Regions from separate parts of the Homo sapiens genome. Here all the other regions are linked to region 1. Evidence: promoter capture Hi-C in 16 types of primary human blood cells and fetal thymus (Javierre and others, 2016). All regions are on one chromosome and are shown on one strand. Each heading gives the region's core, a stretch centred on a gene start or on the middle of the fragment in contact. The rest is flanking DNA. Distances are from core to core; before and after follow the strand shown. Region 1 holds the start of BACH2 (BACH transcriptional regulator 2). Region 2 overlaps BACH2 (BACH transcriptional regulator 2). Region 3 overlaps MAP3K7 (mitogen-activated protein kinase kinase kinase 7). Region 4 overlaps BACH2 (BACH transcriptional regulator 2). Region 5 has its middle 83 kb from the start of MAP3K7. Region 6 has its middle 140 kb from the start of MAP3K7. Region 7 overlaps BACH2 (BACH transcriptional regulator 2).

Region 1 (4,303 bases), core at 672-3,171:
AAAGTGAAAAAGCTCCAGTCTGAGTCTTTGGGCAAGCAGACTAACTGAAATGACCTGTTAGCCTTTGTTGTATCCATCTGACAAGATCAGCTTGTAGAATCCAGAATGGAGGTGGGAGATCAGCTGGCAGCCTCATTTCCCTCCTCAACCACCCCTACGCTGATGTGCCCAACTCCACTCACAGCTGGGCAGCCACCGCTTGCTTGAAAATAAATGAATCTACACCACTCTCATACGGATGCTCTCAAGCATCCCTTGTTGTGAGAAAAACATTTATTGCTGCTACTAAAATGCGTAAAGTTATCTCACAAACACATACTTACAAGAATGAGGAATGAGAAACAGAACCATCCATAAAACTATAAGAAACGGCCTGGCCAGGGCAGACCAGGAATTAGTACTCTGTCCTTGCCAGGGGTCAGGCAGGGACCTCAGAAGCAGGGTGTTTTGTCCTAGGGGGCACCAGACCAGAGGTCAGGAGACTGAGGGCTACTCCTAGCTCTAGGACTTTTCCTTATCTGAAGGCCGGGTCGGTTAGCAGAGAAAATCTCACAGTCCCGTGCCAGACCTCCACGCAGGGACTCTGCAGTGCTGTTAGAAAAATTAGCTCAGCACCTTCAGCTTGCTTTCAGCCATCACTTAGCTTTCCACACAGACATTCCAAATGGGGCCTTTCAAAACTCTGCCCTCAAATGAAGGTAGTTCAGAGCAACACTTTAGATGATATCACAAGACTCCCAGGACGCTTCACTGCTTCCTCAGCATACGCCAGTGCCCGTTTTACAGGGGGGATTTATGATCCTTCTCTCAGTAGAGCGAGCCAAACTTTTATAATATTCATTAAAAATCAGCACCACGTGTAATAATATGGAATACTGCCTGTACACAAGAGGGCCAAGTTATAGGTGTTTAGGGAAACGTGGCAGAATTTTCTGGCCTTGGCAAGAGGTAAAGTTGCAGGCACCAGCACAACACTAACACAACCTTATTTTATTGCAAATGTACATTCAGCCTAAATCCTAATTACCTTCTGTAAAATCCTAACCACCACCAAGCTTTCTTCTGACAGGGCACTCACACGACGGCCTTTAAGGGCAGCAACAACATCCTAAGAGCCGCAGAAAGGAAAGGCAGGGGAGAGTGGCTGGAAGGCAGTAGGAGCTGGGGCTGAAGCCCGGGAGGTTGGCTTTTAATGTCCTCCTGAAATTGACCACTCTCTTTCCAAAAACACTGGCTTGGGGGCTTAAAGGTTCGCTCAGTAGGGCAGGCGGAGGGCCTCCTGAAAAGGATTGAGAAGTCAACATTCAAAAGGCTGCTTTTACTCGCCCGGTCCCCACCCAAAAGGGAGTCCGGTCAGCTTTGTGGGGGCCAGTGGAGCATCTTTTCTTGCCCTTCCGGGAAAACGCTAGCTAACCCTGGGATCCCCGGTCCCGACGTCTGCTCTCCTTCCCCAGGTGCAGCACCTAGGGCTCTGGCCCCCTCCCCACGTGCCACACCAGCCCTCACCACTACTCTCACCCTGCTATGCCCCCAACCCTCGTCTTTCGTGGCCGGGAAGGCCAGGCCGAGCGGGGCGGTCAGCCGGGCCGGGAGGAGGGGGCTCTCCGGGCCGCGCGGCCGCACAAAGCGGGGAGATCTGCTGCTGCGGCGGCATGAGGCGCGCCCCCTCCCGCGAGCCAGCGGAGCGCGCGCGCCCGCCCCCGTCCCCCGCCCCCCGCCCCAGCCCCCGGAGCGCCATTCGCGGAGCGGCTTACGCTAGTCGCCGGGCGTACCGCGCCCCAGCGGCCGGGGAGGTGCGCTGCCCGGCTCCCGTAAAGTTATTGTGAATGGGGAGCGGGTGACGTCAGCGCCGAATGTCAACAATGTAGCGATTGAGAGTGTGGGCGTTCCGGGGAGAGCGCAAGCCGCGCGGCGCGGAGCAAACAGCGCCGAGCCGCCGCCGCCTCAGCAGCAGCAGCAGCAGCAGCAGCGGCAGCAGCGGCCGTGCACGCCCGGGCTGCGGTCGCACAGCGCTAACGTGAGCGGCCGCCGCCCTCGCCACCCCGCCTGCCCACTCCCGCCGCCGCCCCGCTCTCGCTTTCCCCCCGGCCTCCCCTCGCCCCTTCCCCTCCCCCTTCCCGGCGCACTCGGGGGGCTGGGAACGAGCTGCCATGTGATGCGCGTCCCCTCCGCGAGCTTTCGGTGACCCACGAACTGCCCACCTCGCCGGCTGCCGGGAGGGGGCTGCGAGCCGGGAAGACGCGGGGAAGAGGAGGCGGAAAAGGACGCAAAGTTCTCCGGCGAGGTGAGTCCCGGGCCCCGGGCCCCGGGCCCCGCCGCTGGGCGGGGTGGCGGGGCAAGTTTGCGGGGGGAGCGGGCGCGCGGGGCGGGCGGGGAGGCGTGGGGAAACGGCGCGGGAAGGGAGCCCCGGCCGCCGGGCGCGCAGCCGCCCTCCCCGCGCCCTGCCCGCTTTTATGGCATTTTCTAGGAACGGGAAGGGGGTGGGAGCCGAGCCGGCGGCCGCGCCGCGCCGAATGTGTGCTCTCCCTCCCGGCTGTTTACGGCGGCCGAGGCGCATTGTATTTTGCTGGCGTCGAAGGGTGTTTTGGAACAGCAGAGGGAGGAGGAGCAGAGAGTAATAAGTCAGGCATGGGGAGGGCGGGCTGCAGGAGGCGCGCGTCCGCGCGAGCCGCAGCAGCTGTCAGACCCGCGGCCCTGCCCCCGGCCCGGCGAGGCCCGGGTGTCCCGGCCCCCAGCCTGCGATCCCAGCTCCAGGCCGGGCGGCCTCCTCCTTAACCCTCGGCGTGCGCATCCCGGGCTGCTCCGCGAGGACCTTGGCCGCGGCGCCTTTGCGCTCAGCTGTCAGCCGCCGCCGGGTGGCCCGGACCACCGCGACCGGCGGGGAATCAAAGCCCAAGTTTAGGGTCGCAGGAAGAGGCGAGCTGGGGGCCTCGCGGCGCAGACCTGGATCGAATCTCTCCTAGCGAAAGATCGGGTTGTCGGAAAGCGTCCCGCGTAGCTAAGACCTAAGGGCGCCAGGCTTCTGAGAGGGAAACCTTGCACCTCCTCTCCCACAGATCCTCCATGAAGTCAAGGTGCAACACACACACACACACACACACACACACACCCTACACTCCAGTCTCCAAGCCCCAGAAGCTTCACCCAGGAGACTGGTTTATGAAGGGGACACTGCCCTCCCCGTCCCCGCGTCGAGGCGCTCCGTGGCCCCGCTGTGCTTCGCTCACCCGGCGGGTGTTCGGGAGCCCGGCGCCGCTGGAGACGGCGGCGGGCGGCGCTCACGGGCTACCCTAGGTGCCCACGAGGGGAGAGACTGGAGCGAGCATCTCGGCGACCTCGGTCTGGCCAAGCATTTGCAGGAACTCGGACCGTGAGGGGAAGCGTGCAGGGCCGGGAGTGAGTGTGTGAAGGGGTGGCACACTCCTGGCTTCTGGGGTCGCGGGCGCATGGGGCATCCCCAGCACTCTCCCGCGCGTAGGCGAGTTTGGTAACTTGAGGGAAGTTCCGGCGCGGCCGCTGCCGGGGTGGTTTGTCTGTGGCCCGATGAGGCGCGCCTCGCAGCCTGCTCTCCCGGTCACCGCCGTCGCCGTGACCTGTGGCCTCCAGGAAACGAGAGGGACCGGGGCGCCCCACCCGCGAGACGGACCCGCAGTCTCCCGGCGGGCCCGCGGGCGGCGAGACGCGGCGTTCCTGGTTTTCACCTTCGCTGTCTAGTGCTGCAGTCTCTCACTCTCTGTAAATTTCATCTGTTGAGTGTATTTAACTAAAAAGGGTAATTACTTTAGATAAAAATCCTTTCCTGCCTAGTGGGAACCTTGGCGGAGATGATGCCTAATGAGATATTTTGCTTTTGTCTGTTTAGAGTAAAATTAGAGATGTTAACGCTGATAACGGTTTTCTCAGATCATTAAAATGTAACATGTAGGAAAGGCACGTCTTGCTGCAAAGGCTCGGGCTGACATGAAAGAAGCTGAGCGTGAAAGGCTGCCCCTCCTTTGGCGGAGAGGGCTATTTTGGTAAGGCAGCGGGCGTCTTGCTTAAAATGTGAGATCGCCCCACCCTGGTTCTCGGGCACCTCCCGAGTAAACGGCGTTTTTCATTCTTGCAGGTAATAATAAACGTGAGTCAAAATGACATCTTGTTAGAATTAGTCTTTAGTCTGTAAGAGAGATTGCCAAATTACAGTGTTGCGTTCAAACTGCTCCACTGAAAGGTCTGTCAGCATTTCCATTATAAATTCAGTTTTTCTGGAGTTTATAATTTCACCACAAAACTTTGAGTGGCTGAAATGTTTTCCCTTCTA
Region 2 (4,303 bases), core at 1,125-3,624, 240 kb after region 1:
GTTTTTTTCACATCTTTGTGGTTTTATCTACCTTTGGTCTTTAATGATGGTGACTTACAGATGGGTTTTTGGTGTGGATGTCCTTTCCGTTTGTTAGTTTTCCTTCTAACAGACAGGACCCTCAGCTGCAGGTCTGTTGGAGTTTGCTAGAGGTCCACTCCAGACCTTGTTTGCCTGGGTATCAGCAGCGGTGGCTGCAGAACAGCAGATATTGGTGAACCACAGATGCTGCTGCCTGATGGTTCCTCTGGAAGTTTTGTCTCAGAGGAGTACCCGGCTGTGTGAGGTGTCAGCCCGCCTCTACTGGGGGGTGCCTCCCAGTTAGGCTCCTCGGGGGTCAGGGACCCACTTAAGGAGGCAGTATGCCCGTTCTCAGATCTCAAGCTGTGTGCTGGGAGAACCACTACTCTCTTCAAAGCTGTCAGAGAGGGACATTTAAGTCTGCAGAGGTTACTGCTGTCTTTTTGTTTGTCTGTGCCCTGCCCCCAGAGGTGGAGCCTACAGAGGCAGGCAGGCCTCCTTGAGCTGTGGTGGGCTCCACCCAGTTCGAGCTTCCCTGCCGCTTTGTTTACCTAATCAAACAACTAACTTGGCAGTGGTGGGCGCCCCTCCCCCAGCCTCGCTGCCGCCTTGCAGTTTGATCTCAGACTGCTGTGCTAGCGGTGAGTGAGACTCCATGGGCGTAGGACCCTCTGAGCCACGTGCGGGATATAATCTCCTGGTGTGCCATTTTTTAAGCCCATTTGAAAAGCGCAGTATTAGGGTGGAAGTGACCTGATTTTCCAGGTGCCGTCTGTCACCGCTTTCTTTGACTACAAAAGGGAATTCCCTGACCCCTTGCACTTCCCGAGTGAGGCGATGCCTCCCCCTGCTTTGGCTCGTGCACGGTGCGCTGCACCCACTGTCCTGCACCTACTATCTGGCACTCCCCAGTGAGATGAACCCGGTACCTCAGTTGGAAATGCAGAAATCACCCATCTTCTGCATCGCTCACGCTGGGAGCTGTAGACCGGAGCTGTTCCTATTCGGCCATCTTGGCTCCTCCCCACCGGCATTCCAGAATTTTTCAATGAGAAATACTGATCCAGAGATATAGGAAGCAGTGTATCTAAACAGACAAATAAAAAGGCCTTCACAACTTTTTATACCGTAGTAAAACTGTGAATCACTGAAGACAGCTCTCTTAAAAGGAGCCATAGGGAAAACAGACCACATCCACAGAGGAACAATACTTAGACTGACAGCAGACTTCTCAACAGCAATGACTAAATCCAGGAGATGATGAAATATTTTCAAAGTTCTGAGAGAAAATGATTTTCGACTTAAAATTGTGTTTTCAGCAAAAATAACCTTCAAAATGAGAGTGAAGTATTTTCTTCAGACGTACAAAACCTAAGGGAGTTTACCACCAGCAGACTTACACTGAAGGAACTTGAAAGAATATACTTCAGGCTGGGTATGGTGACACACACCTGTAATCCCAGCATTTTGGGAGGTCAAGCCAGGAAGATTGCTTGAGGCCAGTTCAAGACCAGTCTGCACAATACAGTGAGACCCTAGCTCTACAAAAATAAATAAATAAATTAGCCAAATGGGTGGTGTATACCTGTAGTCCTAGCTACTCAGGAGGCTGAGGCGGGAGAATCACTAGAGCACAGGAGTTGAAGACTGCAGTGAGCCTTGATCACACCACTGTACTCCAGCTTGGATGACAAAGTACAACCCTGTCTCTAAATAAAAGAAAAAAAAAGCGTATACTTCAGAAAGAAGAAAAGAGATAGCAAAAGGTCTGAAAAATAGAAATTGTAAGCAAAGAAATTGGTAAACATGTAGGCAAATCTAAACAAATATTGCTGGTTTAAAATACTGTGTAAAACTCCCTATATATGAGGAAGGAGATAATCAGAGTTTGCATTATAAGTTCCTTTTGTTGTTCTGAAGGGGTTAAACTACTAACTTTGGATTTCAAGGGTAACTGCTAAAAGAAAAGAACTAGTGTATAACTTCTAAGCCTGATTTTTAAAAATCAAAAAAGAAAGAAAAAATACATAAAGCATAGGAAAGTAGGACAAATAGAAAATAATATTATAAAAACAAATGCAGATATATCAGCAATCACAATATATGTAAATTGCCTAAACTTTCTGGCTAAAAAATAGAGTAAACATTAAGATTTTTTAAAAAATATAATACCAATTCAGCTATACAGTGTTTAGAGAAATACACATTTAACAATTCGTATTCGAGCAAATACCAATCAAAAAGGAGCTATGTAGCTTTGTTGATATCAGTCAAAATAGACTTTAAGGGCTGGGTGTGGTGGCTCATGCCTGTAACCCCAGCACTTTGGGAGACTGAGGCAGGCAGATCACTTGAGGCCAGGAGTTCAAGACCAGCCTGGCCAACATGGCGAAACCCTGTCTCTACTAAAAATATGAAAAATTAGCCAGGCATGCTGGCCTGCACCTGTAATCCCAACTGCTCGGGAGGCTGAGGCATGAGAATCGCTTGAACCCAGGAGACGGAGGTTGCAGTGAGCCAAGATCATGCCACTGAACTCCAGCCTGGGTAACAGAGAAAGACCCTGTCTCAAAAATAAATAGATAGATAGATAGATAAAAGACTTTAAGGCAAAAAAAAATCAGGATAGAGAGAGCACTACCTATTGATAAGGTTTTAATTCACTGGAAAGGTATAACATTTCTATATTGCATCAAAACATGTAAAACAAAAACTAATAAAACTATAGAGAAATTTCATGTTTCTCCAAGATATTGCTTGGTCAAGCACATAACAAATAATTAGTAAAGAAATATAACATTGAAGCAGTACAACTGAATAGTTTGATTCATAGAATCTTGCATCAAACAAATAGAATATATGTGTTCTTCATATGGAAGAATTACAAAACTTGCCCTCATACTATGCCCCTAAAACAAGTCTCAACAGATTTCCAAGAATCAGTATAATGACCACATTATCTGATCATAATACAATTTAATTAGAATTCGGTAACTAAAACATAAACTCCCCAAAATTCCCCTTATATGTGGAAATTTTTTAACATTTTAAAATAATTCATTGATCAAAGATGTAATAATGGAAAATTTAAAATACTTAGAATTGAATGATAATGAAAATATGATATATCAACTTGTGGGATACAGTAAAAGTTGTACTTGGAGGAAAATTTATAGTCTCAAGTGTTTTTCTTATTTTTATTTTTTATTTTAAGTTCTGGGATACATGTGCTGAACGTGCAGGTTTGTTACTAGAAAAGGAAAAAGTGAAAATTAAGAAGCTAACTTTGAGAAGGTAAAAAAAAAGACGAATGAGAAAGGAAGGATGAATAAAGATGAGAACAGAATTAATTAAATTGAAATTGTAAATACTATGTAGGGTATCAACAGAGCCAAAAGTTGGTTCTGTGAATGGAGTTCATAATACAGGGTTTGGTAAACTTTTTTTGTAAAAAGGCATATAGTAAATATTTTTGACTTTGTGGGCCATAGTCTCTCTCACTACTACTCAACTCTGCCACTGTAGTGCAAAAGCAGCTATAGATAATACGTAAATGGGTGGATAGAGCTCTGTTCCTATAAATTGTTGTTTTAAAAACATGGTAGACTGTATCTAGTCTACAGGATCATAATTTGCCAGTCCTGTACTAACAGTAAGACTGATGTAAAAGAGTAAGTCCAGTGAGAAAGTTTAGCACAGTGACTGGATATAAGATCAATATACAATATATATCAATAAAAATTAATTGCCTTATATACCAGTAACACAGAAAAGTAATGTTTAAAAAGTTATTAATGATAATAACAAAAATTTAAGTACCTCAGAACAAATCTAACAGAACTTATGCAAGACCTAAATAAACTAAAATTGTATTGTTTAATATGCTCAGGTCAATTGTTCTCAAAATTTTGGTTTCAGAATCCCTTTATACTCTTAAAAATTACCAGCCTGTAAAAGCCTGTAATCCCAGCACTTTGGGAGGCTGAGGTGGATGGATCACCTGAGGTCAGGAGTTCAAGACCAGCCTGGCCAACATGGTGAAACCCCATCTCTACTAAAACTACAAAAATTAGCTGGGCATGGTAGTAGGCACCTGTAATCCCAACTACTTGGGAGGCTGAAGCAGGAGAGAATCGCTTGAACCCAGGAGATGGAGGTTGCAGTGAACCGAGATCGCGCCATTGCACTCCAGGCTGGGCGACAGAGCAAGATTCCATCTCAAAAAAAAAAAAATTACCGAGAACCCCAAAGAGCTTTCGTTTATTTGGGTTTTATCTATATT
Region 3 (4,303 bases), core at 862-3,361, 240 kb before region 1:
GCTGTCCTTTGCCTGTGATTGTGTTTTTAGCAGTGTTGATAATTCTAGTTGAATACCTAATGGTTATTTTCTCCTCTACTAAACTGAAAACTATGTAAGGATAGAATCCATATCTTTGTGCATTATTTTGTTGTTGTTGCTTATTATTGATTGTATCAGCAGTTGCTGGCTCAGTGCTTCACATATTAAGCATATTAACATAGTGTTTAATAAATACATTTATTAAATAAATGAACAGACCTATTGAGCATCTCCCCTGGTGAGAAACTAGCATACAAAAATATGAATTATACTATTCTTAGGTGCCATTTTGTCTGTATAAAACTATCTTATATTAATTTTCCCCTGGTTATCAAAGTGGTTTCTTATTTTACAACATCATTACTATTGCTATTCAAAGAGTAGAGTTAACCCATTTTTCACATGGTAATTTTTATTTATTGAATCTGGACTGCTTCAGAAATTAACAAAGAGATCATTTTACATGGAGATCAGTTTACCTCCATGCGGAAAGGTACTGTGTATAAGGGACGTACTTTAAAGAGGTGGAAGCATTTAAACTTACATACCGCTGAACTGTGCTTCCCTTAAATGTTTGAGGGAATCAGGAAAATTTAGACAGATGGCAGTGTAATCTTATGACTAAGCATTAAGAATAAATTTATATATGGCAGCGTAGCCCACGCTATACAAGATAATGGGGGAGGGAAAAATAAGGAAAGAATAATAGTTTATAACTGTCAGGTACTACTGGCATCTAGTGGGCAGAGACCAGGGATGCTGCTAAACATCCTGATGTGTACCAGGCAGTCTTCTCCAACAAAGAATGATCCAGCCCAAAATGGCAGCAGTGCTGAGGCTGAAAACCCCTGATTAGATGTTCTTTGTGCCCTACAAAGTAGCTTAAAGTACATCTTATTTTACCTTTATACAATCTTACAACTAGGTTATCGGATGAAATTATAGCTGTTTAACAGACGAAGAACTTAGATCTGATGATGTTTAGTGGTTTTTCCAGAATCATATAGCCAGGACCCCAACCCAGATCTTCTGACTCCAAGTCACATCCATTTTTTGTTCTTTTGTTTAAGTCAGAGAAGCTAGAGTAATTTCTTCTTGCTTTCTCTTAGTGTTCACATTAAGGAGAGCTCTTCAGCCAGGGAGATCCTCTTTTATGACATTGGGCCTTTATGGAATCAGGTAACCTTAATTCTCTTAATTGCCAGAGCAGCAGTGCTATTCATATGAAAATATTATTCAGTAATACCTTTTATTAAATATTCTTTTTAGGCTTTTCCCCCCTCAGATATCAAACATTAACTTACTCAGGTGCACTTTCTTTAATAGAAGAATACAAGCTGTAGAATTGACACTAGTGGACATAAAAGCCAATCATGAATGTGCTCATAGGTAATGTTTTTAAATTAAATATAAAAATACCGCCCATCCTTTGGGAATATCTCAAATTTCCTACATGACATTTTAATTGTAAAGAAGGGTGATACTTAATTTCCAAAATTTCTTAATACTTTCTAGAAATTGTTTTGTTCTAAGTGGATTTCCCACAAGCTTTATGGTATTAGCAAATACTTCTTGATATATTCAAACTGTTTAATTAGCATTAAAACCCAATTGCAAGGATTCTTTTTAAATATAGCTTTTTAAAGATCTTATTTACATGGATAAGAGTTTCGTTAATACTTCCCTTTGGCCAAGTGCAATGTACTGAGTCTAATGTACTTCTTGGAATGAACTACCTCTCTTAATAAGAGCAATCCTTCAAGCATCACAAAAAAGGTTTTGTATATATATCTTTAAAGTCACTAAAATGTCTAACCTAGTCATAGGTAAAGAAATGCAAAGACCCTAATCTTGTAATCTTGTTTTTTGCTCGCTCTTCAAAATGTGTATACTATGCCATCAGTCAAATGTGGAAGAAAAAGCAACTTAGCAAAACAGCACTATTTATCAATTTAGTAGTCTCTCAGATCATACAGAAATTAACCTTTAATACCTTAGGACTCCCTGTGGGTCAGACTGTACAATTTTTTATACCTCTTCTACCATATTACTGGCTCTGAAGAACTGACAAACTTTTGTACGGTAACCCTTCCTTCTTTCCACTGTCCATCTGCCCTTAAAAGAGTGAGCTTTATAGATTAGCCTGGCTCCTTTTTACCAAGGAAGACACGCAGCTAAGAGCAAATTACCAGTAGAGTGTGTGACATTTTGCTGACTCTTCCTTTGTAGAGAAGGTCCTGCCAAGTAGCAGTGTGCTACCTAAGCAAAGTAAATGTAAATGTGGAAGTTTCTTGCCCAGTATTTAGACCATATGAACTACAGTTTTCTAATGCATTTGCTTGCTGGTAAGTTGGAAGGGACTTCGAGAAAAGAAATAGATTTTCTTAAATGTTTTTTATTAAAACTTGAGTTTTAAAAACCATATCCTTTCTCCTTTCAGCCAGTACATCTAATTTGTTACATTTATATTTGAAGAAAAGGGAATAGGTAGCAGATTATTGGATTCTTTGAAGTTTTTCTAGATTTTTTTTGTTCTAGGACTTTAATAAGGGCAGTAAGAACACAGATCATTGTTTTGCATGGATTTTCTTTACTTTTTCCCATATTTTCTTTTTGTCACTATCTAAGCTTCCAAGAATCTATTTTTCACCCACCTTCATCTCAAGTACACAAATGAAATAGATTATTGGGATTGTGAAACTATGTAAGACATTCTAATGCAGTTCATCTGATGTTAGAAGAATACCTAAATTTTACATTTCTTTTAAAAATCCAAATGTCAAAGAGGAACAGGTAGAATGCCTAAATATTACAAAAAAAGAGGAACAACCTTTTTCAGTTTAACATGTAGAGTAAGAGAATAAGTAGTTAAGAAAGCGAATTATTTTTCATGCTTGTAGCATCAGTAATGGAAGATGGGTTGTTCTGCTCTGGAGCCTTTGTGTGAGTAGTTATAGCATTTAAGGAAATAAACTGTAATTATAATGCATTCTAAAATCTACTGGAAAAAAATACTGTCATATACATATATACTTACCACCTATAAAAGATTTAATTAAACATTAGTCTTCTGCACTTCTACTCTGATATAAAATTTGTTGTACATGGTTCATACCGGCTTGATTGCTTTTATAAAGTGAAATGAGTTTCCCAAATGTGATATGCAAAAGTAAAATTTTCTAAATTACAGACATTTTTAATGCTATTATATCATCATAGATAAATTTATTTCTTAGTTCAGATTAGATTATAATGCTTGATTTCAAGTACTTGAAAACCATCCATTCTATAGATGAACATTGCCTTGAAGTGCTTCAATTTGAGAACCTTGAACAGTGTTGCTTTAGTGTACCTTTTGTTATTTCTAAGCCTAAAATAATATGGCATAACATTCGAGAGCAATAAAATGCCTTGACCAAAGAGGATTTTCTGTCTTACATACTGTTCTTAAGGATATGCAAAAGAAGATTGAATATACAAATGTTTTTGAGTCAGATCTTACTGAAATAGATAAGATTTTTGCCTAGTTTCCTGAAGAACCTGAACTTAATTGATATTTATTGTTTGTTATATCATTCTTAAAGCTAAAAAGAAACCTTAGGTGTCCTTATGATTTCAGCCGCATTTAGATCTCTTAACTGAATAAAAAACGCGTATTCGCTTTTAATTTCAGTCAAGGACGTTTAGCTCTATTGTATATTGGTTTTTTACTAACAGTATGATAAGTAGTAAATTGGAGTAAGTAGAATGTAGAGAGGCCCAAACATTTTAACTGAAAAATAGATGAGTAGTTAGGCTTCTAATACTTGTATCTTGTTGCCCTCCTTCAGAAGTTTCAAATGTCAGGTATTGGCAAATAAATTATCTAGGTGGGGAGGGCTTTATAGAATGCTTAAACAACTGGAAGCAGAGATGCTTTTCAAGGACACCTGAGCACTATTTTGCTTTCTCCACCAGGATGAAAATATCACTTTTTTAATAGTATATTTGGTTCAAGAGCCGGTCGGTAACTAATGTTTGTAAACCTTTCTTTAACTGGAAGCATGTAAGTTATTAAATATTTCCTCCAGACTACTGCAGCACCAATATGAAGAGGCAAAGAGAGAAAGAATTGAGTTTTTCTAGATCTGGCAAGTTCTCACCTAGCACAGATAGTGTCATTAGCAGATGTAAGCCTTTGATAGGGATCCTAGGGCTAAGGGGTGCTATACTAAGATGTACTGTACTAGTTTCTGTGTATAGCCACCTCACTTTCAATAAAATTCTCTATTTGTGGCATATT
Region 4 (4,303 bases), core at 633-3,132, 220 kb after region 1:
AAAATAGTAAAGCCAACACACTTGGAAAGCCAGGTTTGAGTGTGGACAGGAGAAGCCTTGGTTAAAAAGAAGATACATCTATTTTATGCCGGGTACCTCCACCTTAAAAACGCTTTTAGTTTATGATTCTAAAATAATATCTAAGTGTAAAAGGCATCATGTAAAATGTTTTTGTGCCATATATCATCCTCAGCATAGAAAGGCTGTGCTTACAGACTTTGCTTTATTCACTGAAGTCCTACAAAAGTCAGGGACTCTGAGTTGTGTGAGAAATGAGGGTCTCTCCCTACATAAACTCACTAAAATCTTTCCTTTTTGTATTCTGTTTACTTTAATGGTAGTATGTGCCTTATATCTTATATGTTCTTTTCGTCCATGACATGCACTGGGAAATAACATTTTGTTGTTTGCCACAACATTACACCTGTGACTTCTTTCTTTCTCCTGTCCTCTTGATGCAGCATGCTGTCAAACTGTATCTTTTGAGTTGTTCTAAATTGAATCCTGGTCAAAGGGATTTAACAACATCTAAAACGGAACTAGCTTAGATTCTCTTCCATTCTGTAGAGGTTCCTTTGTTCCTGCTTACCTACCCATGTCTGTCTGTATTCTATTCTTTTTCTTAGATTAAAATTGGAAAGGGAGAAAGGGGGAGCTCCTTAGGAGAAATAGGTCTGTGGAGAATTGTGAGTACTCATTCAGAAGCTATTCTTAGTTCTAAGGAATATAATGAACTTGAGCTTTGAGTCCTACTGAATCTCCCATTAATGATCCCGCCATCGCTTCCACCTCCCATCTGATTATGTTCTCCCCAAAGGCTACTGATATTTTTCCCCTAATATTCTGAATGGAGTCTCTTCCAAGGAAAGCATATCTCGAAAGGAATTGAGCCCTACTGCAGTAATAGTGTACTGGATGATTCTTAATTATTCTATTAAGTACTTCTGTTTTTGCATTACCATAATGTCTGCTGTAGCGGAAACTTTTCTGTAGACCTTGACTTGTCAGAAGTCAACCCCTTAATGTGAGCACTTCACTTACATTATCATTATGGTGTTTCCAACTGACAACTGCTGCCACACTGCCATCGTCCCTGAGTTCCCAGCGCTTCAGTAAAAGAGACTTTTGTTCTGGCTTGTTGAGGGGAAAAATGCAAACAACAACACTAGCTCTACCACCAGAGATCCTATAAAGACATGTTCAAATGAACAATAAAGTCATTTGTTCACATATGACATAAGGCTATAAGAATTTAAACAATAAGACCTCTTGTGAAATGTGGCAAAATATGCACCACAAACATTGTGAAGTTCTCTGTCTTGTGGAAGGCAGTTTTTACATGGGCTTCAAAAAACCATTAACTTATAAACTACCCTTTTAAAAAAGAAAAGAAAATCACTTGTCTCACTATAACATTAAAGCAATTTCTGTTCTAAGGAAAGCTTAAATGCATTCATTTATACAAAGTGCATGCACTATAATTTATAAAAAGCACAGTATTCTATCAGGAAATGCGGCACCTCTTCCCTCCTTCACCTGAAATGGGAAATTCCTCCGTTTTTGTCAAGTCCCTTTTTTCTTTGAGTAATATTGATTTCTTCAAAATGAAAGAAAAAAATCCTTTAAATCACTTAGATTCAAGACGAAGTTTTAAGGCTTGATAATAATTCTCTAAATACTTCTGACATGGGTGGAGCATGGAGAGGGAATAATCCTGCTCTGAAGGGAAATTTTAATTGAATTTGCTTTAATGTGAACCCTATCCTTTTTTGCTTTGAACCTTTAAGGAAAACTTGTTATATTTTCAGACCTCAGCAAGGCAGAAAAATGCAGAGATTTCCTTGTCCGCTCATGTCAGGGTGTCTGGCAGCACCTTAAAATTGTTCCGATTTTGATGTTTGAAATGTGACCTCCCAGGAAAAGTGGGAGGAGAGGAGAGCATGTGTTAACTGGCCAAAGGTGTTTCATTGAGCTGACTTAGTATTAACCTCTAAAGGTTTTCAAGTATTTGCAGATGGATATGTACAGCATCCTTGCAGAATTCTCTTAATTGAAGAAATGTTTCATCTCGATCTCTGTTGACAGAAAAGATTGCCTACTGATAATTGCTTTCCTTAAGTGTCTGATAATATGCCAGGAATGAGAGCATTCTGTGTTAGGTCATCTTTAATTATGCATGTACCACCTGTCAGCTCTAAATCAGTACCAGATTAGATTCTCGCAGAGTCAGTTTGGGGAGGTTCAGAGGGAAAGCTGAGGTGATCTCTTTTAGAAACAACAAAAATAGACAGTAGTAAACATGCCTTCTAACCTGAAGCTTTTTAAAGGAGCCTCATCTTCATTGTTCTCGAGCAAGAATACGCCATTGGTACATCTGAAAAACGTTTGAAACCTCGCCCAAGCGGGGATAACTTACTGCGAAGATGGATGACTGTGAGCGAGGATGGTAGTACCTCCTCCCTCAGTACCATCTGTTGCATTTCCTTTTTGCTCCTTCTCATCGTTGTAAATGAGCCAGGGAAAAGCTCAGAAACATTTTTATAAGCTATGTGAGGACAGGAAATATGTTAACGATGTTAGATTTCATACATTTCAGGGGTTTTTTCAGTAGCGGGTTGGTTTTTTTTAGAAGGACAAGTGTGGGTTGGAAATAATGCTTGTTACCCTCTGTCAGCTTTTGGTAGTTTTATTCTCACTTTTCAGGGTTGTTTGGGACTTTCTGGTGGGATGTTTAGGGTTCTTTACTGAAGGCTCTGTTCTCTCTTCTTCTATCCCTTGATAGAATGGATTTGTGAAAGGTGTTTTTCTTTGTTCACCTGTCAGAGGCCTAAGAAAAGCCTTGAGTCATTGTGCACTTTTCACAGAGGCGGGGTTGGATGACTGAGAAGCTAAAGGCAGAGAAGGGACAGGTAAAAAAATAACAGATGCGTGAATTATCATGTGGAGGGTTTCTCGAGCTTTGACCTGCAAAGGTGAGGCTCTGAGCCTGTCTGCTAACCAACCTGAGAAAACTGCCTTGATAAGAGTTTGTGACTAACAGCCTTAGAAATAGTTTGGAAATCCTAAAATATCTCATTTCAACACTGCTGGCTGGAGGCATTGAAGGGAAAAACAGATCAGCTCATAATGGGGCAAAGACCCTGGAGCACTGTGGTCCAGCCTGTGGCCCTGAGTGACCTTTGGCTGCCTTTTGATACTTAGGGTACCATTTGCTTTTCTAACCTAATCAAACAGTTCACTCAAGTAGAGGCACAACCTCCAAAACTACTTATTATAGTAACATTGCCAGTGCTTTGGCTATTTGATGCTCACTTAATACAGTAAACAAGTTGAAGAACTTTCAACTCCATGCAACAGATACTTCTTAAAACAGGAGAACATAGTACAATTAACCCTTAAACAACACAGGTTTGAAGTGCGTGGGTCCACATATACGTGGATTTTTTTCTCGATAGAAGTTACACTGAGTGTACCTGCCTCTTCTGCCTCCCTTCCACCTCCTCCACCCCTTCTGCCTCTGCCACCCCTGAGACAGCAAGACCAATCCCTCTTCTTCCTCCTCCTCAGTCTGCTCAATGTGAATACCGTGAGGATGAAGCCCTTTATGATGATCCACTCTCACTTAGGAAATGTATTTTCTCTTATGATTTTCTTAATAACATTTTGTTTTTTCCAGCTCACTTTATTGCAGGTATATAATACATATAACATACAAAATATGTGTTAATGGACTATTTATGTTATCAGTGAGGCTTTCAGCCAACAGCCGGCTATTAAGTTTTGGAAGAGTCAGAAGTGATATGTAGATTTTCGACTGCGTCGGGGATCGGCGCCCCAACCCCTGTGTTATGCAAGGGTCTTCCCAAGCCTTAACTGAAAAGAACATCCGAAAGTGAAGCTAAGTCAGAGAAAGGCTGAAGAAAGGAATTGAAAAGAGAAGCAATGGGGAAGAAAAGGCTGTACTGCCATGTTCTCTCACACCAGCTCATCTTTGTAAAATCTTTTCCATCTGCCTGGAAAGACCTTCCACTCTCTCCACCTGGTTTACTCTCACTTTGAGTTGTTCTTCAAGTGTCATCTCCAAGAAGGCTTCTTTGTTCCTTTCTGGCAAAATTTGCTGTCCCTCCTCTGTGATGCCATAGCCCACTGGCTGCCTCCTTCGCAGAACTTATTATGCTGTACTGCAAGAGCTTGGTGACTTAGCTTTCTCCTCCACAAAGTGGCTGCTGAAAAAGTTAACATTATCCTAACTGTGACAAAAGAGGTCTCATGCCCACAGAAGGAAGAGTCATGATTTCATTAG
Region 5 (4,303 bases), core at 905-3,404, 210 kb before region 1:
AAGGTTGAGGTATAATTTATATGCAAACTGTACATTTAAAGTGTACAATTTGATAGGTTTTGACAAAATGTATTCTCCTGTGAAATGACCACAATCAAGAATGTGAGAGTTTCCCCAATCCCAAAAGATTCCTTGTTCCGTTTGATAATCCATCTCTCCTCCACCCTCATCCCCAAGCAACTACTGGTCTGCTTTCTATAACTGTAATTATTTTGCATTTTATAGAATTTCATCTTACAAGATTTAGTCTCTTTTTGGCTGACTTTTTCACTCAGCATGATTTGATATTCACCCAAGTTATTAACATATATTAATAGTTTCTTCCTTTTTAAAAGCAGGATTCCATTGTATCGATGTAACAAATTTTGTTTATCTAGTCACCTATTGATGGATATGTTGAGTTATTTCCAGTTTGGCACTCCTACAAAAATAGAGTTGATATTAATGTTTGTGTACAAGTTGTTATGTAGACATGTGTGTTCATTTCTTTTGGGTAAATACTTAGAATAGCTGAGTTTTATGATAGGTATATGTTTAACTTTTCAAGAAACTTCCATACCTTTCCAAAGTACTATGTAATTTTATATTCCCAGCAGCAGTGTATGAGAGTTCCGTTTGCTCCATATCCTTGCCCACACATGGTATAGTCAGTCTTTTTCATTTTAACCATTCTAATAGGTGTGTGGTGGGACCTTATTGTGGTTTTAGTTTGCATTTCCCTGATGACTACTTTTAGCCCCTTGGCATGTGTTTATTGGGCTTTTCTTTCATATAATTTCTTTGGTGAAGTGTCTTAAAATATTTTGCCCATTTAAAAAAATTGTGTTGTTTCCTTTCTTCATATTGAGGTGTAAGACTTTGGTATATTCTTGTTACAGTTTGTTGTCTGATATCTGTGCTGTGAATATTTTCTTTTCTGTTTGCCTTTCTATTTTCTTACTGATATTTTTCAAAGAGAAAAAGGTTTAATTTTTATGAAGTCCAATTTATTAATTTTTTATTTTAAGCTTCCTGTGTTCTGTTTTAAAAAATCTTTGCCTACCCCTCACAAAGATTTTTCCTTCTGTTCCTTCTAGAAGTTACTTATTAGGTTGGTGCAACAGTAATTACTTTTAATGGCAAAAACCACAATTGCTGTTGCACCAACCTAATAGTTGAGCTTTTACATTTTGGTCTGTGATCCGTTTTGAGTATTTATTATATTTGGTTTAAGGTAAGAATCAATGTTCATTTTTTTTCCATACAGATATGCAGTTGTATTCCAGCACTATTGATTGACTTTCTTTTCCTCATTGAATTGTCTTATTTCTTTTGTTGAAATCAGTTGACCATGTGTATATGAGTCTGTTGGTGAATTCACTATTTTTCTCCATTGTTGTAGCTTTTTCGTGTTGTAGCTTTATAGCACCTCTTGAAATCAGTAATGTAAGTTCTCCAATTTTGTTCTTTTTAAAAAATTATTTAGCAATTTCTGCAAAAATTTTAATATCAGCTTGTTAATTTTTACCAAAAAAAAAATGTCTATTGGGATTTTGATTGGGATTGCCTTAAATGTATAGACCCAAGTTGGGGAAAATTGACATCTTAACAATGTTGAATTTTCCAATCTATGAACATAGGAATTTTCTCCATTTAGTTAGATCTTTTCTAATTTCCCTCAGCAATGTTTTGTAGTTTTTAGTGTAGAGATCTTGGACTTGTTTTGTTATAGTTTTTACTTAGAAAGTATTAATATATTATTAATTTTGTTACATTTATTATATATTATATATGATAGTAGATATATAATAGATAATGTAATATGTTATATAATATCTATTATTATATTATATATAATTATATTATTTTGTTGTATTTATTACTTAGAAAGTATTAAATATAACAAAACAAGCCTCGATTAAAAGTAAAAATATACCCTTGGACACAACATTCCTACTTTGAAAAATCTATAGCCTTAAGAATATCTGTATGTAAAGACATAGATACCAAGAAGTTATTTGAAACACTGTGTATAATGGCCCCCAAATTTTTTATTAAAAAAATAACCTCAACAAGAAAAATGTCTATCAGTAGGGGAAAGATTGAATCAATTATGGTAAATTAATGTTTTTTAAAGGAATGCATTCAATCTATATACAGAGATCTAGATGGATGTCTGTGACCTATTGCTACATGAAAATAGGACATTGAAGAGCAAATATACTATTTAGGTCAAAAAAAACTGTTAAGCAAGACAAAAAATTATAATATGACATGCATATGAATACAGAAAACAAGAGAGAAGGATACTCTTAACAGTGTTTATCCCAGGAAGGGTGGATGGTGATGGAGAGCTTATTACCATTTTTCTTATACATTTCTTAATCACTTGACATAAAAATACATGGTGTAGGCATTATAGCATATATAATACAAGTGACCCTGATATCAACCTGCTATATTTACCACAGTCTGTAAATAGTGTGGCAAAGAATCTAACATTTTGAGGAGAGATGTGAAGGAAGGAGAGAAGACACAAGAGCCCAGCATAATGAATCAGTCGGTAACCATTGAGAGGGAACAAATTGTGACTAGCAGTTTTCCAGATTATTCTACAGTAATAGCCACCGACATATACGTGAATCATAAATCTTTCTGCAGCCCAATAAGGTTTTCAATCTGAAGCACGCAAGGAAAGCTACAGGAAGTGGTATTGTCTCTTTTGAGGGAAAGAAATGGAGGCACATTCATTAATCTCTGAGAAACAAATCTCAATCTCTGCCTGCCTTGGAGACACTTAGTTTATGGAGTTGTCAACAGACTCATCAACAGAACACACACATGAAACCTGTGTAGACAAAAGCACCTTTATGCCTAACTGATCAGACACTGAAACTGGGAACCAAAGGAGCATGTCATCTTCATGCTCACATACCTTTAAGAGCAGAGTGAAATGGCCTTTAAACTTTGCTTAGTCATTCATTCAAACAGATAAGGGGAAAGTTTCCTGCTGTGCTCTTGTTCAGGCCTTGCCAATAGATGACACTTGCCAGCCACTTGGGGACATCACAGCAGACCAGAAAAATTACCCTAGAGAGTTACCTTAGTTTTAAACATGGCTTAGCATATTTGCACATTTGGGAGGCATCGGGTTAATCTACTTTTTCCCATATTAGCCATGCCAACTATTGCAGTTAAAACTGCATACTCCTAATTTAGGTGACTTTATGTTAAAATCAACAGAAATCACACACTCTTTGGGTTGGTCTATAAATCAAAAATATAGGAAATATGCATTTTTTTCTTGCCTAAACAAGCTTGTAGCTGAGCCAATTTTGCTGCCTGAAATGTTTAAGCATTGTTGCTATAATTGGTCCTTAGAGCTTCATTCCTTAGTGCTTCATTTAGGATTTCAACAACCTGCCATTCCCCGTAAATAACAACCTGTCATAATGACAAATGTGGAGGTGGTTGGTCCGAAATGCAAAGTATTCAAGCAGGCTGTTGTAGCAGACTGTTCCGTGGATAAGCAAGAGGCAGGTTCATCAAAATGAAACAGCCAAGTTTGCCCCAACTCAGAGACAATTCTTTGATTATTTGAGAGAAAAAATGTCTTATTTTGTACTTTTTTCCTTTTATTTTTTGTTTTGTTTTGTTTTGTTTTTTGAGACAAGGGCTCCCTCTTGCCCAGGCTGGAGTGCAGTGGTATAATCACGGCTCACTGCAGCCTCAGCCTCCTGGACTCAAGTGATCCTTCCACCTCAGCCTCCCACATAGCTGGGACTACAGGCACATGCCACCACACCCAGCTAATTTTTCAATTTTTTGTAAAAACAGAGTTTCCCTATGTTGCCCAGGCTGATCTCAAACTTCTGGGCTCAAGTAATCCTCCACCTTGGCCACCCAAAGAGCTGGGATTACAGGCTTGAGCCACCATGCCCGGTCATTATTTTATACTTTCAAAAAGCCAAATGGGACCACTAATTAAATATTTATTACTTAAAAGATCTCCTTTACCACCTTTGTTCCAAATTCTCTTATACTGCTGGCAGTTAGGAGTGGGGCATTTTATTAACCACTAAAATGTGACCTTTCATCTCACAAGACTGTCCCTCTTTTAAGCTGATTTTGAGAACATGTGGATATGCTCCCTTTAATTGCTTTTATGAATAACATTTTTAGTGATCCTTTTATGTGTCTATATACACATATACACACACATATATGTAAATGTGATTTACATATGTATACGCAGAGGAACAGCCCAGATCCAATTCCAAATGCCTGTAATCTTTCAGTATTGTTAATGTTATCATCTCCATTC
Region 6 (4,303 bases), core at 480-2,979, 150 kb before region 1:
TCCTTCACAGCAAACCTTCCTAAAGTCCTTGATTATTATCACTGCCTCCACTTCCTCACCTCGCATTCTCCCCTCAACCCACTTCTGCTGAGTTCCAGCCCCTTCGCTCTTTATGCTGCAGAGTCCAACCTGCAAGCCCTGTCCTCATCACACTTGAGCTCTCAGCAGAAGTCGGCAGCCTTTGCCACTCCCTCCTTTTAAAATCCTTTTTTCTCCTACCCAGCAACACACTCTCCTGGTTCTGCTTCCCCCTTGCTAATTGCCTCTTGTCCAGCACTTTTGCCAAATTTGCTTCATTTTCCTGACTTCTGATTCTTCAAGTAGCTCAGGATTTGTGCTCTGACCTCTTCTTCGTCTGCACTCATTAGTCTCACTCAGTGTCGTGGCTTTAAATATTATGTATATACCCATCACTCCCTCTCCCTCGCACCAGCTATTTGAACTCCTTGGCACTGCCACATGGATGTTAAGCAAGTATCTGAAACTTGTGCCCAATCAAAATTTTTGATTTTCCCTCCCAAAGTTCCTCCACCAGTCTTCTCTATCTCGATATATGGCACCATCATGGTACCACCAACTGGAGCCATTAAATGGTACCATTTGCTTATGACAAAAAATCTAGAAATTATCCTTGATAACTTTCTTTGCATCACCCTCACATCCAAACCATTGACAAAACTCTCAAGTTCACCTTAAAACATAGGCTGAATCTATCCATTTATCTCCATCCTCTGCCAACACACATTGGTAGAAGCCATTATTACCTCTCCTGTGGCATACTTCAACAACCTACTAACTGATTTCCTTGCTTCATTTTTACTTTCCTATGATCTCTTTTTAACATAATAAATGGAAGAAAGGAAAGCTCTTCCTTATAGTTGAATTCCAAATAATAAACATAGAAGTGATGTATTTAGAAATTCATCAATGGGTGCTAAAACTAGTAAAAGTTTGATGAGCAATAGGATATTTACATAGTCTCAAAGAAACTCCTCAGGAATGACTTATTAATTACAAAGGGAAAATTAGTCACTTTAAAGAGGACAGACTTGGGGAACATGGCCTTAAGCAAGTGATCAAAGCTAACATCACCAGTATTGGGACAAACAATACTCACAGGTCCACATGGCTGGGGAGGCCTCAGAAACTTACAATCATGGCAGAAGGCACCTCTTCACAGGGTGGCAGGGGAGAGAATGAGAGCCAGCAGGGGAAATGCAAGATGCTTATAAAACCATCGATCTCGTGAGAACTCACTCACTATCACGAGAACGGCATGGGGGAAATAACCCCCATGATTCAATTACCTCCACCTGGTCCCACCCTTCACATGTGGGAATTATTACAATTCAGGGTGAGATTTGGGTAGGGACACAGAGCCAAACCATTTCACTGTTCTTGCAAATTTCTTGTAAGTTTGAAATCATATCAAAATGAAAAGTTTCCAAAACACTATACTCATCTGGCCATGTGATTTTTCTGCTTTCTGCCCCTCAGTAGCTTCCTAACTTCTTTATAGTAAAACTCAATGCCTTGCCATGGCTTACATAGCCCTCTGTGATCTGGCCCCTGCCCGCTGCTCATGTCATGCTGTATCATTCTTTCTCAGCCTCCTAAACCAGGTGTCGACAAAAAGAGTCAAACTCTGTAAAATATTTGAAGAGATTTATTTTGAGTCAAATATGAGAGACCATGGCCCATGGCACAGCCCTCAAGAGATCCTGAGAACATGTACCCAAGGTGGTCAGGGCACAGCCTAGTTTTATACACTACAGGGAGACATGAGACATCAATCAAATACATGTAAGATATACATTGGTTTGGTCTGGAAAGGCCTGTAAGGAGAAGGAGGGCTTCCAGATTATAGGAAGATCTGAAAATTTTCTGATTGGCAATTGGTCAAAAGCGTTACTATCAATAGAAAGTAATGTCTGTGTTATGATAAGGGGTTGTGGAGATCAAAGTTTTATCATGCAGATGAAGACTCCAAGTAGCAGGCCTCAGAGAGCACAGGTTGTAAATGTTTCTAATTAGACTTAAGGTCTGTGTTGATGTTGAATGCTGGTCAGCTTTTTCTAAATTTCAAAAGTGGGGAGGGTATAATGAGGCATGTCCCACCCCCTCTTCTTGTCGTGGCCTGAACCAGTTTTTCAGGTTAATTTTGTAGTGTCCTGGCCAAGAGGAGGGGTCCATTCAGATGGCTGGGGGACCTTAGAATTTTATTTTTGGTTTACACAAGCCAGTGTCTTTCTGTCCCTGAAATATACCAACCTCTCTCACCTTAGTGCCTGAGAGCTGTTTCTCTGCCTGGAATGCTCTTCCCCTCAACTTTGTAGATTTGGTTCTTCCTTGACATTCAGACATCAGCTTCAAGGTCACCTCCTTAAAGAGGCCTTCCTTAGCCACACCCCCTCACTCTCTCTCATCCTACCTTAAAGTGGCTTCCATGTAGAGCACTTATCACTCTATGTTTTCTTTATTTACTGATTCGCTTATTATCTTCCCCACCGTGGACCATAAAACCACGATAACAAGCATTTTGTCATATTCATGGCTGCACCTTTCGTGCCTAGAATAGTGCTAGTCCCTACTACATGCTCAATAAATAAGTGCTGAATGCAGCTCGTGTTTTCTATGCATTTTGGTAATGCTAATAAATGACAATAAAATTCTAAGCCCCTCCCACTGATTGAATGGGTCTTCCTCTCAGCCAAGGGGACACAATGAAACCTGAGAATCTAGTTCAGGTCATGATGGAAAGGTGGGGGGCAGAGATGGGGCTGGAGTCTGTCTGACTGAACAGACTCTCTGTAGCCATAAGACACCAAATTTCAACCTCACTATTATACCATCACATGACAGATAGCAGGGCCCTGAAAGAAACTGAAGTTTTTTGACCCTAAAATATGCTTACTTGACACGTTTTGAAATGGCCCTGCAAAGCTGTTTCTTGTGGGGGGAAGTTAGCATTCTGTAGAGAATCTGCTTCCTTTACCAGGTCTCTCCAAACAGTCTGATACCTTTGGTAAGAGACATTCACATCTATTCTCTCTGAAGCCTGGAGGCTTGTCTACATGATAAAAACCTTGGCTTCCACAACCACCACCCCCCAACCCTTACCTCAAGCCGACTTCAACTTTTCAGGCAGAGTTTAACCCTTTCAACTAATCACCAATTTGAAAATCTTTGAATTCACCTATGACCTATAAGCAACCCCTCCCCTCTTCAAGTTGTTTGGCCTCTCCGGACCTAACTACTGTATATCTCACATACCTTGATTGATGTCTTATGTCTCCCTAAAACATATAAAACCAAGCTATAACCCAACTGCCTTCAGCACATGTTCTCAGGAGCTCCTGAGACTATGTCATGGGTTATGATCCTTAACTGGCAAAATAAACTTCTAAGTTGATGGAGATCTGTCTCAGATACTTTTTGGCTTACACTATGTATTATTTTCATATTGAAATAAGTCTTCTGGTAATAGAATCTCCCTCTCACCAGTCATGGATACCCTTTCCTATGTAACTCCAGAGTTTTCAGTTCTGGGCATCATTATGGTTATATTCAGAACAATAGCTATTTTCTTTCAGTTCTTTTTTTCTAGGGAGCCAAAGCTCATTAAGCCCCTTCCCCATTAGGATCCTTGGGGACCAAGGCAATTACTAAGAGGATAATGGGCATTATGTGCTCCCACCCTTCCCAGAAACGATGGCTGCATCTCATAAATGCCAGGGCTTCAGTATGCAGTGATGATTTTTATCCTCATTGTTTTGATACTGCTGATGAAATACCCTCATATGCCAATTCCTACAAGCCATACAATAGCGATAGTTTTCATAAGTTGGGGCCCGGGAGAGAAGTTTGATCCTGCTGTCTTCTGCCAACTCTGAGTGGGGTCTCAGATTTGCCCTTTGAGTTCTCTGTGACAGCTGCTTCCCTTTGAATTTAGAGAGTGGCTCTTTCAACTTTGTGAATGAAGCATGGGGCCTGCAGAATCAGAAACCTAGGCCTCCTTCCCACTGGTAACCTATCTTCACAATCTCCTGTATTAGTTGCATTCATGAGCGGCGGTGAAACTCTAAGGACTGTGTGTTGTAAAAGAGACCCTTGATCTGATCCATAAAATTTATGCCTGTCATCATCTTTCATCCACTCCAGGAGGCCTTTCAATGGCACTGCCCTTCAAAATCGCCTCCAAATACTCAGGAATATTGCATCTCCCTGTTAACCCACATAAAGGCAGCTAACTACCCCAGGGAGTAAGAGAGAAATGCGTGGACATAAAAAAAAAACAAGTCTC
Region 7 (4,303 bases), core at 533-3,032, 140 kb after region 1:
TGCCCTTTGGCTCTGCACTTTGTTCATACCTTTTTGGGGCAAGCTCTTCTCTAAGGAGGTTGAGAGTCAGGTTAAGTCATACCCAGCAATTTCCTGTTTGTGAGCCTTGAAGCTCTTGAAGAGTGCGGCAGGTTTGACAGAATCTGTAGGTGTTGTCAGACGTGAGCTGATTCATCCCCTTTGGTAGTTAATTCTCCAAAGGTCTCATCTCCCCAGCTACCATCCCTTCTTCTCTCTGGATGCTGCACAGTTCTTCTTTGTGTGAGGATGAGATTTTCAGGGCCGCCTGGGTCATGTATTCCATGTCTTTTTTGGGTTTTGGTGCATGTATTTTAGACCCTACTTTTCTCCATTTTTATGCAAGAGTTACTCCGTGTTGTTTCATAGCATTTTTGTTGTTGTTGTTCCTGCAGGGCTTTGAATGGTCCCTGTGAAATCTGCTGCCTTTCTTTTTCATAGTCCTCCACCTCAGCTCAATATAACACAACTTAGCCTAAGAAATGCAAGGCCCTAAGTAAAGACCACCTGAAATGCCTACTTGTTTGGTAGTAGAAACTTTGGTGTTCTCTCATTATTTTCTTTATTTCCCAGCATATTGGCAATGAAAACTAGACAATCACCCATTTTTGTACAATGCTCCCCTGAAGTAAACCATGAGAGTGGGGCAGCTAAGTAACCCATCTTTGAGAATGTTATTTTTGGCCATGCCATGTAGAAAAAGGACTGAATTTGTAACCCAAAAACTTGCATTCTTAAACCAAAATAGGAACAGTCCCACTTTGGCCAACCACCCTGGGCAAGTAGCACACTCTCCAAGATTCAGAATATAATTCTTACTGCCTACAGGGGTTGTTATGAAAGTAGAGTAAGATGCAGTGGAAGTGTTGCTTATGCCTGGGAAGTGCTATACAAAAGTATTAAAATTGTAAGGCTATAAAGAAAAACTCTTGTGAAGCGTTTTTTTTACACCACTCGATACCTACCTCAGTTTCCCTCCCCACCTTCAGATATGCAAGGCTGGTCAGGAGGTTGGGCCCCATGCACATTGGGATTAGGTCCCCTGGAACTTTTCAGGTGAGTCACTGCTTCATCAGATAGCGGAACTCCCTCACTAACCTTGGAATTCCAATCTTTTTTAAAACTTTGGTGATTTCCATTGGGGAAAAAAAATCTCTTGTAGTTAGTGATGAGGCCACCTCAATTGTCATCTGAGAATAGGACTTTATGCAATATTGACAACCCATCCATGACTTTTTTTAGTCGGCCAGCATTTTTGCACACCTGCTTGTGCCAGGCATTGTTCTCAATGCATGGGATGTGTCTGTGAACAAAACAGACACAAATTGCTGCCCTCTTAGAGCTTCTATTCTATTGGAGGAAAACAGAAAATAAGCAATAAACAAGCAAATTATAGTAAGTTAGAAGGTGGTAATTGCTAGGAAAAAAATTTAAAAACAGAGCAGGAAAGAGGAGGGCCAATTTGGGGATAGGAAGAGGCTGCAGTTTTAAATTAGGTGCTTGTTGTAGGCCTCCTATATTTCTAGTCTTTTGTTATTGTTGTTGTTTTTACAGAATGTTGTGATGATTTACTATTGCAAATGAATCATCTCTGTATAAATTAAATATTGCATGAAATGAAAGGAGTTCAGCTAAAGGCGAAACCTGATTGCTAAATGCTTGCAAAAGGATGGGAAGTTGCTCTAGCCCTTGCATGGCATTCTCAGGTTATCTATTCTTAGTTTAGTTTCCTTTTCCAAAAATGATGTTTATTATATAGTCTTCGAATGGAACATATCGCTGACACCTACTGCCATGTGTTTATAGTTAAACATAACTAGCCTCCCTTCTTACAAGACCAAGAGGTTCATCCAGAATGTTTCCCTTTAGAAGTCCTAAGAAGGCTCTCCTGGTTGGCTTTCCAGCCCATAACAGTGATAGATTTTGCAGCCTTCTTAGTCTAGCCATGTGGAGAAACCTGATGTTTTGGGTAATTCACCCCTTTAAACATGTGCTTTGTGTTTTGGTGGTGGTTGTTTGGGGCTGCGGTGTCTTAGGCATGGAGCTTATTATATCCATATAAATTACAGATCGCAGACACTCCGCCTCAAATAGCATTGGATTTATGATCCCTAGCTCTCCCTTTGCAGTGCCCCTTCTCCTCATGTCTGCTGTGCAACCTGACTTATGGTTGAGCCTGCTTCAAGTTCTTCCTGCCAGTTTGTCCCCTTTTCCGCAGTCTGCCTTGGTAGCTGACTGGGAGGGGCCAGCATGTGGGTTATCCCATTGTCTGTGGCTGTACACAAGAGGCTCTCAGTGGGTCTCTTTCTACGGACAGGACCCTGCCAAAGTAACACTTGTGCTTCCTGTCCAGTACTGACTAACGCAGTGCTATTCAAAAGGCAGGCTAGAACTAGGGCCATCAGAATGAACACGTTTTGAGCATTGGCAGATATACTTCCTCCCTTCCTGGCCTGTTGTTCCCCATCACTCACCAGATTCAGAAGGTGCAGTGCTCCTTGGGAGCAAGGCTGGGGCGCTTAGAGAGAGGGTCCCTTAAAGAGGAAGGGGGCTACCCTGGCTCATTATGAACTTTTTGGGTTCTGAACCTACCACTCATTATTCTGAATTGTGCAGCACATGTCTGTCACCTCCTAGTATAGAGTGGCCTTGAGAAAGTCACCTACTCCTTCTAGGTCTCAGTTTCTCATCTATAAAAGGAGTAGATTACTCTTCAAATGACCTTCAAAATTGCTTCCACTTCTAATTTTGTTTTAAGACACTATTGACTACACTTCTCCTAAAAATTGATCTTTTTGACGTGATTGGGCTCTTGAGACTTTTTTACCCTTTGTCCTGATCTGATTCTCTCCATGAATCAATTTTGTTCATCTCATCTGTCACTCTTCCTCTGTATGCTTTGTAACCTGCATTTCCTCTACTTCTGGCACTTTTTTGCCAATGGAACCTGCAATTCTACTCTGCAAATAGCTAGGGTTGTTTCCTCCCTCACTCCCAGCCAAAATACAGCTTTTATAGTAGTATCTCTGAGTAGGGAGTTGGGCTATTGAGAAAAACATGCTATAGCCCAAAGTCCCTATTTTAAAAGAGATAGAGATTGGAATGATATGTTCTTTTTAGGGTGTGGATGTTTTAGGCTCCAATGACCATAATCAAAATAGATCTATAACCAAGCCGTAAAAGGGTAATATATGTGAATTTTCTCATAATATGAATCCTAACACAAAAGCAGTTACAATACTTTAAGCGTAAATTACATAGTCTGCACCATGATTTTTTCAAAATTTGTCTTACGAACCTCAAGGAGGAAAATGTACCCCACTGGTTAGGAAAGAATTATTTTCTCTAGGTTCCATAACATAGAAGGAGTGTTTTATTTCCTCACTGCCTTGTGCCTGGGAATACTGAAATGATAGATTCAGCCATGTTTTAATAAAATTCCTCTGTAAGAATATTAGCATGGAGAGAGATTGGTATAAATACATGAATGTGCCTGGATTTTGAAGGTAAATCCTATAGCTATCAGATTGCTATTCACTTAATTGCCACAATCTAAAATTTATCTGTTAGTGTTTCTTTTCTAATTGTTACTAGTGTGATAAAAAGAAAAACTCTTATTTATATATAGATTATTTGTTTCAGGACATTAACTGAGAATATAGTATTGAAATGACTTGAAATTGAAGGAATCAGATTTTCTACTGCTTATTTATTCAGAATATAACTTACCCAACAAGGTCTGATTTAATTTATTTTGAGGAGTAGTATTTAGAAGCAGGATTACTCTTATTTAGGAAAAGAATCTGGATCTTAGATATACAGTGACTTGCCCAGAGTCACCTAGTAAATGAAAGAACTATAAGTCACCACTTGGGCGTGTGATTCATGATCTTGACTATGAATTGATACCAGTACTTTACATGAAATGGCCATACTCTGAAAATTATATTTTTAGATATAACCTTAATAAATATACTTGCCTTTCACAGAATATTAGAACCAATTCCTCCTTATCTTCATGGAGGAGCATACTTAATGATATATGTACTGATGAGATTTCGTCTTATTTTTAAAAACTTCCAAGAAAGAATGTTTCATAGCTCCCTTCATTCATCTACTCTGGTGCTTAATTAGATTTGATACGAGAACGCTTTCTTTCTTATCTAACTTGAATCCCTCATGCTGTAGCTTAAGTCTGTTTTCTCTCACTCTGCCTAGGATGCCAAAAGCAGCTAATCACCATTATCCATAGTAATATTCACAAAGTCCTCCTTATGTTTGAAAT

What was found. The method cuts DNA at HindIII sites, captures the fragments that hold promoters and counts their contacts. A CHiCAGO score of 5 or more calls a contact.
Region 2: a fragment that was not itself captured here is called in contact with the fragment with the promoter of BACH2 in region 1 in 2 of 17 cell types (activated CD4 T cells and naive CD4 T cells); the score reaches 6.8 in activated CD4 T cells.
Region 3: a fragment that was not itself captured here is called in contact with the fragment with the promoter of BACH2 in region 1 in 1 of 17 cell types (naive B cells); the score reaches 5.2 in naive B cells.
Region 4: a fragment that was not itself captured here is called in contact with the fragment with the promoter of BACH2 in region 1 in 7 of 17 cell types (naive CD4 T cells, non-activated CD4 T cells, naive CD8 T cells and 4 more); the score reaches 21.2 in naive CD4 T cells.
Region 5: a contact is called between a fragment that was not itself captured here and the fragment with the promoter of BACH2 in region 1, in 1 of 17 cell types (activated CD4 T cells). The highest score is 7.1, in activated CD4 T cells.
Region 6: a contact is called between a fragment that was not itself captured here and the fragment with the promoter of BACH2 in region 1, in 9 of 17 cell types (activated CD4 T cells, naive B cells, total CD4 T cells and 6 more). The highest score is 16.4, in activated CD4 T cells.
Region 7: a contact is called between a fragment that was not itself captured here and the fragment with the promoter of BACH2 in region 1, in 4 of 17 cell types (naive CD4 T cells, non-activated CD4 T cells, activated CD4 T cells and 1 more). The highest score is 8.5, in naive CD4 T cells.

Annotation. Positions count from the first base shown.
Region 1 is chr6:90,294,461-90,298,763 of GRCh38, reverse strand. It overlaps BACH2 (BACH transcriptional regulator 2), which reads left to right and starts at 1,921. Exons shown (of 9, transcript NM_021813.4): 1 at 1,921-2,284. LOC105377891 (a long non-coding RNA gene) reads right to left here and starts at 1,525. Exons shown (of 7, transcript XR_942778.4): 1 at 1,028-1,525. It overlaps LOC124901361 (a long non-coding RNA gene), which reads left to right and starts at 3,558. Exons shown (of 2, transcript XR_007059676.1): 1 at 3,558-4,303. RefSeq lists enhancers at 1-208, 3,526-3,615 and silencers at 2,008-2,057, 2,683-2,742. The HindIII fragment of the contact is 2,083 bases long and covers 1,058-3,140 here.
Region 2 is chr6:90,050,726-90,055,028 of GRCh38, reverse strand. All of the region lies in intron 5 of BACH2 (BACH transcriptional regulator 2), which reads left to right. Among named protein-coding and RNA genes, the nearest start is that of GJA10, 160 kb to the right of the region's middle. The HindIII fragment of the contact is 5,124 bases long and covers 1-4,303 here.
Region 3 is chr6:90,539,357-90,543,659 of GRCh38, reverse strand. All of the region lies in intron 12 of MAP3K7 (mitogen-activated protein kinase kinase kinase 7), which reads left to right. Among named protein-coding and RNA genes, the nearest start is that of MAP3K7, 46 kb to the left of the region's middle. RefSeq lists a silencer at 2,124-2,324. The HindIII fragment of the contact is 1,080 bases long and covers 1,572-2,651 here.
Region 4 is chr6:90,071,211-90,075,513 of GRCh38, reverse strand. The region is part of intron 5 of BACH2 (BACH transcriptional regulator 2); the gene reads left to right. Among named protein-coding and RNA genes, the nearest start is that of GJA10, 180 kb to the right of the region's middle. The HindIII fragment of the contact is 875 bases long and covers 1,445-2,319 here.
Region 5 is chr6:90,501,660-90,505,962 of GRCh38, reverse strand. No RefSeq gene overlaps it. Among named protein-coding and RNA genes, the nearest start is that of MAP3K7, 83 kb to the left of the region's middle. The HindIII fragment of the contact is 2,289 bases long and covers 1,010-3,298 here.
Region 6 is chr6:90,449,206-90,453,508 of GRCh38, reverse strand. No RefSeq gene overlaps it. Among named protein-coding and RNA genes, the nearest start is that of MAP3K7, 140 kb to the left of the region's middle. The HindIII fragment of the contact is 8,218 bases long and covers 1-4,303 here.
Region 7 is chr6:90,152,855-90,157,157 of GRCh38, reverse strand. The region is part of intron 4 of BACH2 (BACH transcriptional regulator 2); the gene reads left to right. Among named protein-coding and RNA genes, the nearest start is that of BACH2, 140 kb to the left of the region's middle. RefSeq lists enhancers at 1-544, 578-722 and a cis regulatory region at 650. The HindIII fragment of the contact is 9,321 bases long and covers 1-4,303 here.